Regions from separate parts of the Homo sapiens genome. Here region 2 is linked to region 1. Evidence: promoter capture Hi-C in human tissues and cell types (Jung and others, 2019). All regions are on one chromosome and are shown on one strand. The core of a region is centred on a gene start or on the middle of the fragment in contact, and the rest is flanking DNA. Distances in the headings are between cores, read along the strand shown.

Region 1 (3,780 bases), core at 471-2,970:
TACCTTTTCTTTTTCAAATTGGCGCGCTCCTCAGCGCTTCAACAGTTTCGCAGAGCACGTTGGAGCAAATGCGGGGGTCTGTGATGCCTCTCCAAAGAAATAACTCGCATAATGCTCAGGCCTCCTGCAGACAAAGGTGTATCCCCAGCGACAGATATTTTAAGAAAATAGACCAGGGACACAAGACAAGAGAGCTGTCTTGGTGTCTAAAGCAGTCTTGGACAGCTTCTGATGTCGCTCGAGCAGTGGTGAAGCACCTTGAATAAGGAGGAAAGCAGAGGGGGCGTCTTCCCAAAGGACGGGCACATGGCCGAGGAATGGAATTCTCTGTCCATGAGGATTTTGGATGGATCTGTTCATGAAACCTCACTGGCTACGCAGGACCTTCGAGTGAGTCTAAACCTCCAGCCATGTCAACTGGTAACCTCTCCTTCTTCGGCTAGGTGGGGAGTGGGACAAGGCCATAACTGATAGGAGTCCAGGCTGGGGCAGATTTTGTGTCTCCTGACTAGTTCCATAGTTAAGTTGCAAAACCGAATCTCGCCTTGTGCTCTCGGATGTAGTGCTTACTCTGGTCCTCTGGGGTTATCTAAAATCTGGTTTCCTTAAGCGTAAGGCAGAGCTCTAACCGGGAGACCACCCTGCCCCCAAGGGTGGGGGTTCTGGGAGGGAGAGAGGGAAGCGGCTGCTCTGTAGCTTTCTCTACTGGCTTGCCCAAGTGGACTCTGATCTTGGAGCTCAACAGTGTCACTCAATCTTCCACCCTCTCCTTTGCAACCTATTTCTTAAACCAGAACTAATGTATTCTGGACACAGAGTCCCTGAAACCCCAGACAAAGAAAATTCGATGTATCTGAACAAACAAAACCGCGTTTCTTTAAATCTCCAAGCCAAAAGGAAAAGTGCAGAAACATTTACTCACTGTCCGACCTGTACATATATTTTACCTGATAACCCTTAAAGAAGTGCCCCCCAGTTCAGCCATCACCCATGCAGGGCAAAGGGAGCTGGAGCTGGCCCAGCCTGTCGGCGCAGACACTCCTGACAGCTCCTGTCTGGGCACTTCTTTCTTTCTTGGAGCTTCTAATTTCTTTCTTGGCTTCTGAGGCCTAACAGGGTGTTTTGATGCACACACAGGAATTACTACCGTCCCCAATCCTAGGGTACATCCCTAGCCCAGGCCAGGGCTTTGAGTTTTCCTAGGAGCGGGAGGGTCTGCAAAGCCCCACAGGCTGAAATCTCAGCGTGGCCCTCTGCTCATCTGCTCCAGGTGGAAACTCTCACCCCTGAGCTGCCCGACCTGGGTTCAAGCCCGGGTCAGGGGAGTTAGCAAGGAGACACCTGAAAAATAAAAGGACAGAATGGAAGTGCACACTCCCACCGCGGGCCCGGGCGGGAAGTCGGACTAAGACCGCGGCGGGACCGCCCCATCCAGAAAGGGTGCCCCGGGTGTGGGGGCGGAAACCCCAGCGCTGTCTTCAGTCTCCACACCCGCGCCTTTTTCCCCTGGAAAACGAGCGTCCTTGGCCTCTTCGGCCGCAACCGGGCGGCTCCAGACGTCCAGGAGGGCAGAGGCTGGGCTGGTGCGGCGCGGGGGGCGCGGGCGCGGGCTCTGCGCCTTTAAGGCCCGCGTCGGCAGAGCGAGCGCAGGGGCCGGGCGGCGGGGCGGGGCCTCGGCGGGGCGGCCGCGGCTTCACCTGCAGCTCCGAGCGCGCGGAACAGAGGCGCGGGCGGCTGCGAGGCCGGCGGACGCACCGGCCCGAGGGAACGCGCCGCCGGCCGGACTTGGCCTGGCTCCCGGAGCCGGGGCGGCGAGCGCGGCGGGCGCAGCGGGGCTGGAGGCTCCGGGCAGGCGCGGGGGAGCGGCGGCGGCGGCGGCGATCGGAGCGGCGGCGGTGGTCTCGGCGGCGGCGGCGGCGGCGGCGGCAGGGAGCGGGCTCCCGGTGCCGGGCACCGGGCGGGCGGCGGGGAAGATGACCGCGGGCGCCGGCGTGCTCCTTCTGCTGCTCTCGCTCTCCGGCGCGCTCCGGGTAAGTTGCCGCCTCCCGCCCCCGCCGTTCGGAAGCCCCGGGCAGCGGGAGGTCGTCCCCGGATCCCGCGGGGCGCTCACACACCCGGCGGGGCTCTCCCGGGCTCCCCCGCCGCGCTCCCCGCTGCATCCAGCCCGGCGCCCGCGCTCGGCGAAGCTGCCTGCGGTCGGCAGGAGCGGGAAGCCGCCTGGGCAGCGGGGAGCGGCGGAGCAGGGTGGGAGTGGGGCTCGGTGGAGGACCCGGGGAGCTCCGCCTGCACCGGACCCGCCGAGCCTCCCTCGAACGCCCAAAGCCCGTAGCCGCTACCCGGAGCTCGGCTTGCCTGCATGGGGCAGGCTTCCACTGGCGGAGCCGGCGCGCCCTCCATCGCCCGGGAGCCGCGCGCCGCGGGAGTTGCCGAGCCCAGCCCCGGCCGTGGCTGAAGGCGTGGGGCGCCCGGCGGCTGCGGGCCAGGGATCCGCGAGTGCGGGGCGCCTGCCCGACCTCTCCTGCCCAAGGCCTGGGGGTCCGTCTAGCGGCGCCGCTCAGTTCTGTGGGTGCCGGCAGGACCCGCGCTGCGGGTGGGCGGCGGGGTAGGACTGCGGGGCACTCTCACCCCCGAGCCCTCGGCGGGGCTGGAGCCTGCGTGTCCGGCGGGGCCCCGGGGGCTGGGAGCTGGGCCGGGCTTGGGCCGGGAAGCCGGACGCCGGGCGGGCGCGGCGCGGGAGGGCGCCCCGGGAGGGCGAGCGGGTCTCCCGCTGCCTCTGCAGAGCCCCGCGGGCCGGATTGCCAGCTTTGCTCTGCGCCTGGCGAGGTGCGCGGCCCGCGGGGGCAGAGAGCGCGGCGGCTCCGGGGGCGCCCCTGGGCGGAGGCGGAGGGGCGGCGGGAGTTGCAGGAACCCCCTCTCGTGGCCGATCGGCCTCGCTGCCTTCTCCCGGGCAGCGCTGTTGTAACCTCGGAAATAAACAAGTGCCAGCGGCGGGAGGCCCGCTCCGAGGCCGCGGGGCGCTGGGGGACGCGCTGGGCACACGCTTCGGGCGGGCGGAAACTTTCCTGGGCGAGTTGAGCCTCCCACCGGGCTGCGGGTGCGATTTGGAGCTTCGTGGCCGATGAAGAAAGCCGCGGTTTAGAGCTTTTCGTAAGGAATGACCCTGCGTCCCGCTCTCCTCCCTCGGTGCTGGGGGTAGAGGGGCGCCCTCCGCGGTGCCGGCGTCGGGAAGCCTGGAGCTCCGGGCTGGGGGCGGCCTCCGGAGTCGAAGCATGGGCGGGCGACGGCAGCGCGCGGAGCTGGAGGAGGCGGCGGGCGGGAGGCGCCACTGCCCGGTGCGGGCTGCACCCGAGGCTTCCTGCGCTCGCCGGGGAGCCAAGCACCGCTGTGCTCCTGCTCCTTCAGCGGGGCTGGCTTCCCGCTTGCACACACTGCCTCTCCCTCCACCACCTCCTCCTGCCTGTCACGCCCCCTCCCAGAAGCTTGGTCGGAGGGCCCTGTCGTCCACCCCATCCTTCCCTGGCCCTGTGCCATGGGCTCTAGACTTCCCCACTGAGCAGGAAAGGCGAGCGAGCTCCGGAGGACAGGAGGAGACCCCCTTTCCGGTCAGTTAGGGGAGCCGTCTCCCTGCCTGGGCTGGAGATGGGGGCTCCGAGGGTGAAAATGCGGGCTGAAGACTAGAAGGTGGAAGCGCCCCCACTGCCTCCTCACCCCAGCCACCGGCAGCCTCCCGCAGAGCTGCCTTCTTCGACCGGCTCCGGACCTAGTCCTAGAGAATCTTCT
Region 2 (3,780 bases), core at 792-3,291, 180 kb before region 1:
TCAAAGCAAGGCTGATATGGTTAGGCTTTGTGTCCCCACCCAAATTCCATCTTGAATTATAATCCCCACAATCCTCACCTGTCAAGGACCCAATGGGAGGTGATTGGATCATGGGGGAAGCTTCCTCCATGCTGTCCTCATGACAGTGAGTGAGTTTTCAAGAGATCTGATGGTTTTATAAGGGGATCTTTCCCCTTCACTCATACACACTTCTCTTGCCTGCTGCCTTGTAAGACATGCCTCTTCCCCTTCCGACAAGATCGTAAGTTTCCTGAGGCAAACCCAATGCTGTGGAACTGTTAGTCTTTTCTTTATAAATGACCCAGTCTTGGGTATGTCTTTATAGCAGTGTGAAAATGGACTGATACAAAGGCCATCTCACCACCCCTTGCTTGCATGGGCCATTGATTTTGACTTACCATCAGGGCCCAGCGACCCTGGCCAGGCATCCTTTGGACCACTCCTCACACTGCCCAGACTGGACAGGACACAACCCTGGAAAGGCCTGGCTCCCTCTCCACACAGCTGCTAGGCTTATGAGCTCTGAAAGGTACAGGCCTCCAAGAGCCTCCATTCGGCCTTCAATAATGAGAGGGGGAGAAGAGCCATCTCTCAGCCACAGCTGGAAGGAAGTGGGCTTCATATTCATTTGCACAGCTCCTCTCAACCTGGCCCCTTCTTTTTTCAAGTAGCAAGAAAAAAAGCTGAGAGAGCCAGGAGATGGAGGCTCTTAGTAGATCTTTAAAAGGGGCAATTTTGTTTCATTTATCTGAAAAGTCACACCGCACATGGTGAAGGGGGAAGAAGGAGAAGGGGAGGAGAAGGAGAACTCGTGGAGGATGGCTGGCACCCGGGAAAGCAGACCCCCTCATCCTCTGGCTCCGTGAGTGGGTTCCAGGACATCGTGCAGGAGGTGACTCTCCCTGACTCAAGCTGAGCCTGCTCATCACAGTGTCTGGTGTGCATGATGTTTCTCTTATTTGCTAGGTTCAAAGCTTTGTGCCCACAGCTTCTTTGCTGGTTCTTTCACACGTCTGCCCAGGGCCCAGCACCTGCCATATCTGGAGTGCTTTCTGACCCCGACATTCCTGTCACCTCATTCAGTTCTCTGCTCACTCATCACCTCCCCATTGAGCCCTTTCCCCAGCCCCCCTGCCTAGCCCCATCCAGCCTTCCTCACCCATAGCGAGCTCTGCCTGCTCTGGCTCCTTGTATAGACTGGCTGCTCTCCTGGGTGGCCGGAGCAGTCTGGTTCAAGGTATAAGACCCTCCTCTACTCTGTAACTGCTGTGATTGAGGGGCCTAACTCGAACCCCAGGTACAAACTGGAGTCACAACCAGGACATTCAGCCACACACATGAGGCTATGCCCTGCACAGCAACCCGTGTGTAGAAGTCTCATGGAGCTTCCGTAACAAATGACCACAATGGGGAGGTATATTCCCTCCGCATTCTGGAGGCTAGAAGTCTGAAATCAAGGTATCAGCAGGGCCATCCTCCCCACAGAGGCTCTGCAGGAGGACCCTTCCTGGCCTCTTCTACCACCGATGGCTCTTGGTGTTCCTTGGCTTGGACACATCACTCCAATCTCTGCCTCCACTTCACATGGTTTTTTCCTCTTCTTTCCCTGTCTCTGCTCTGTGTGTCTACTTTTATTTTTTTATTTTTTTGAGACACAGTTCTGCTCTGTCACCCAGGCTGGAGTGCAGTCCAGCTCATTGCAGCCTCAAACTCCCAGATGCAGTCATGGCTTACTGCAGCCTCAAACTCCCAGGCTCAGGTGATCCTCCTACCTCAGCCTCCCAAGCAGCTGGGACTACAGACGCATGCCACCATGCCCAGCTAATTTTTTTTCTTTTAAAGATGGGGTCTCGCTATATTGCCCCAGCTAACCTCAAGCTCTGGGGCTTAAGAAATCTTCCTGCCTTAGCCTTCCAACATGCTGGGATTAAAGGTGTGAGCCACCGTGCCCTGTCTATTTAAGGATACTTGTCATTGGATTTAGGGTCCACCTGGAGGATACAGGATGATCTCATATCAAGATCCTTAACTTAATCACCTCTGCAAAACCTCTTTTTCCAAATAAGGTCACATTTACAAGTTCTTGGTATTAGCACACATATCTTTCTGGGGATCACCATATACTTATAAATAATAAAATTGTGGACATTGTATAAACACTGATGGCATGCCAGTCAAGGTGTTACATACTTCACTTTTGTTTGCTTATTTGATCTGATAGTCCCTATGCCATATCTCCCCCCGCTCCCAACAGGGAGTTGCACTGGACTTCCAACAAGGAAGAGAGGTGGCCTTATCCCCATTTCACGATAAGGAAACTGAACATCGAGGAATGTACAACCAGCAGGTGGCAAATACCAGAACTCAGATGCGTGTCTTCCAGGCTTCCAAGGCTGTGCTCCCACATACCCCACAGCAACTGCCTTGCAGATGAAGGTGCTGGGGCTCAGAGGCTTGCCCAATGTCCCGTGGCTGAGAAGTGATGAACAGAGTTGAAATTCCACTGCTTCCCATTCCAGGCTCTTGCTGCTGTAAGATGCCTCCTCCTCAGGGTCCAAAGTGGATGGAGCAGCCTCTGGTCAGATGGCACCATGTGCTGGGTTACAATACAGAAAATCTTCCCTCCCTTCTTCCCCGGGCCACTTCCCTCATCCCACTGAAGTCTTGCCTCATCTCACTGAAGTAGGGCTTGGATAAGTAGCTTGTTCAGGCCAATGGAACATAAGCATAGACAACATGCCAATCCTGAGCCAAGCCTAGGTGGCATCTGGTGCTTCCTCATGGCCTGTTGTGTTCCTACTGTTACCACAAAAAACCATGCCCTGGGTAGCCACTAATTCAAGGATGATGGGAGGCTCAAGGAGCAGAACTCAACCCAATTCACAACCTGGAGCCTGGAACCTAGAGCCAGGAGCTGGGAGTCCAGAGCCCAACCTAGCCCAGCCGTGGTGCCATGCAACTCTCTTACTGGCTCATAAGTGAGAAATGTCTGTTGTTTTCAGCCTCTGGGTTATGGAAAGATTTGTTACTCAGCATTATTACAGCACTGCTAACTGATACAGATGGGTCTAAACTTGGATGGTTAACAAATATGGAATATATCTTTAGAATAACAGATTATTCTCTGATTCAGAAAGAATGTACAACATAAAATCCAAAATAGATGGCCCCATGCTAACTGAAACCAGTATTCAAGCTAGCTCTTTACAATTTAAAAGGAAATTGGAATTTGAGATGGGACAGGCGTTTTTCATTGGAGATGTTTTGAATGGAAGCATCAAGATCTCCAAAAACGTACTTCTCACTTTTTAAAGGCTTTTGTTTATACCTAACACTAAACTGATGCTAGATTGAAACATCAATTGACAACCTGGTCTGTCAATGAAGAATGTTCAACTTACATGTAAATACATGTACAAACATGGGCCTTCTATTCAGTCAGTCTCAATTGAAAACTTTCTTCTCAAAATTCACTCTAATATGGGGATTGTGTTTATTTATGGGTGACAGCTAATTTGCTTTCTTCCTGTAATAAAATAATTAAAATACTTTGCTCTACGAGTTGTATTTTTTCAGGGTGATCCTTTCATTAAAAGTCATTTAATATCCTTCTGTTCTGTTATCTGCTACATTTCAACTTTTGTGTTTTCTCTGCTCTCCTTGTCTTCTGTCATATTTCTCATTAAATTTCCCCTTTTTGTCCTTTTGTTATGATGGCTTATTTTCTGCCCTAAAACAAGCTTTGAACTTAAAAACCTG

What was found. The method cuts DNA at HindIII sites, captures the fragments that hold promoters and counts their contacts. A contact is called where the count stands out against the background at its distance.
Region 2: a fragment that was not itself captured here is called in contact with the fragment with the promoter of CDH4 in region 1 in 2 of the 25 tissues and cell types used here (H1 embryonic stem cells and liver).

Annotation. Positions count from the first base shown.
Region 1 is chr20:61,250,541-61,254,320 of GRCh38, forward strand. CDH4 (cadherin 4) reads left to right here and starts at 1,721. Exons shown (of 16, transcript NM_001794.5): 1 at 1,721-2,030. The coding sequence starts at 1,974. The HindIII fragment of the contact is 10,940 bases long and covers 1-3,780 here.
Region 2 is chr20:61,075,021-61,078,800 of GRCh38, forward strand. No RefSeq gene overlaps it. Among named protein-coding and RNA genes, the nearest start is that of LINC01718, 2.2 kb to the right of the region's middle. The HindIII fragment of the contact is 4,888 bases long and covers 1-3,780 here.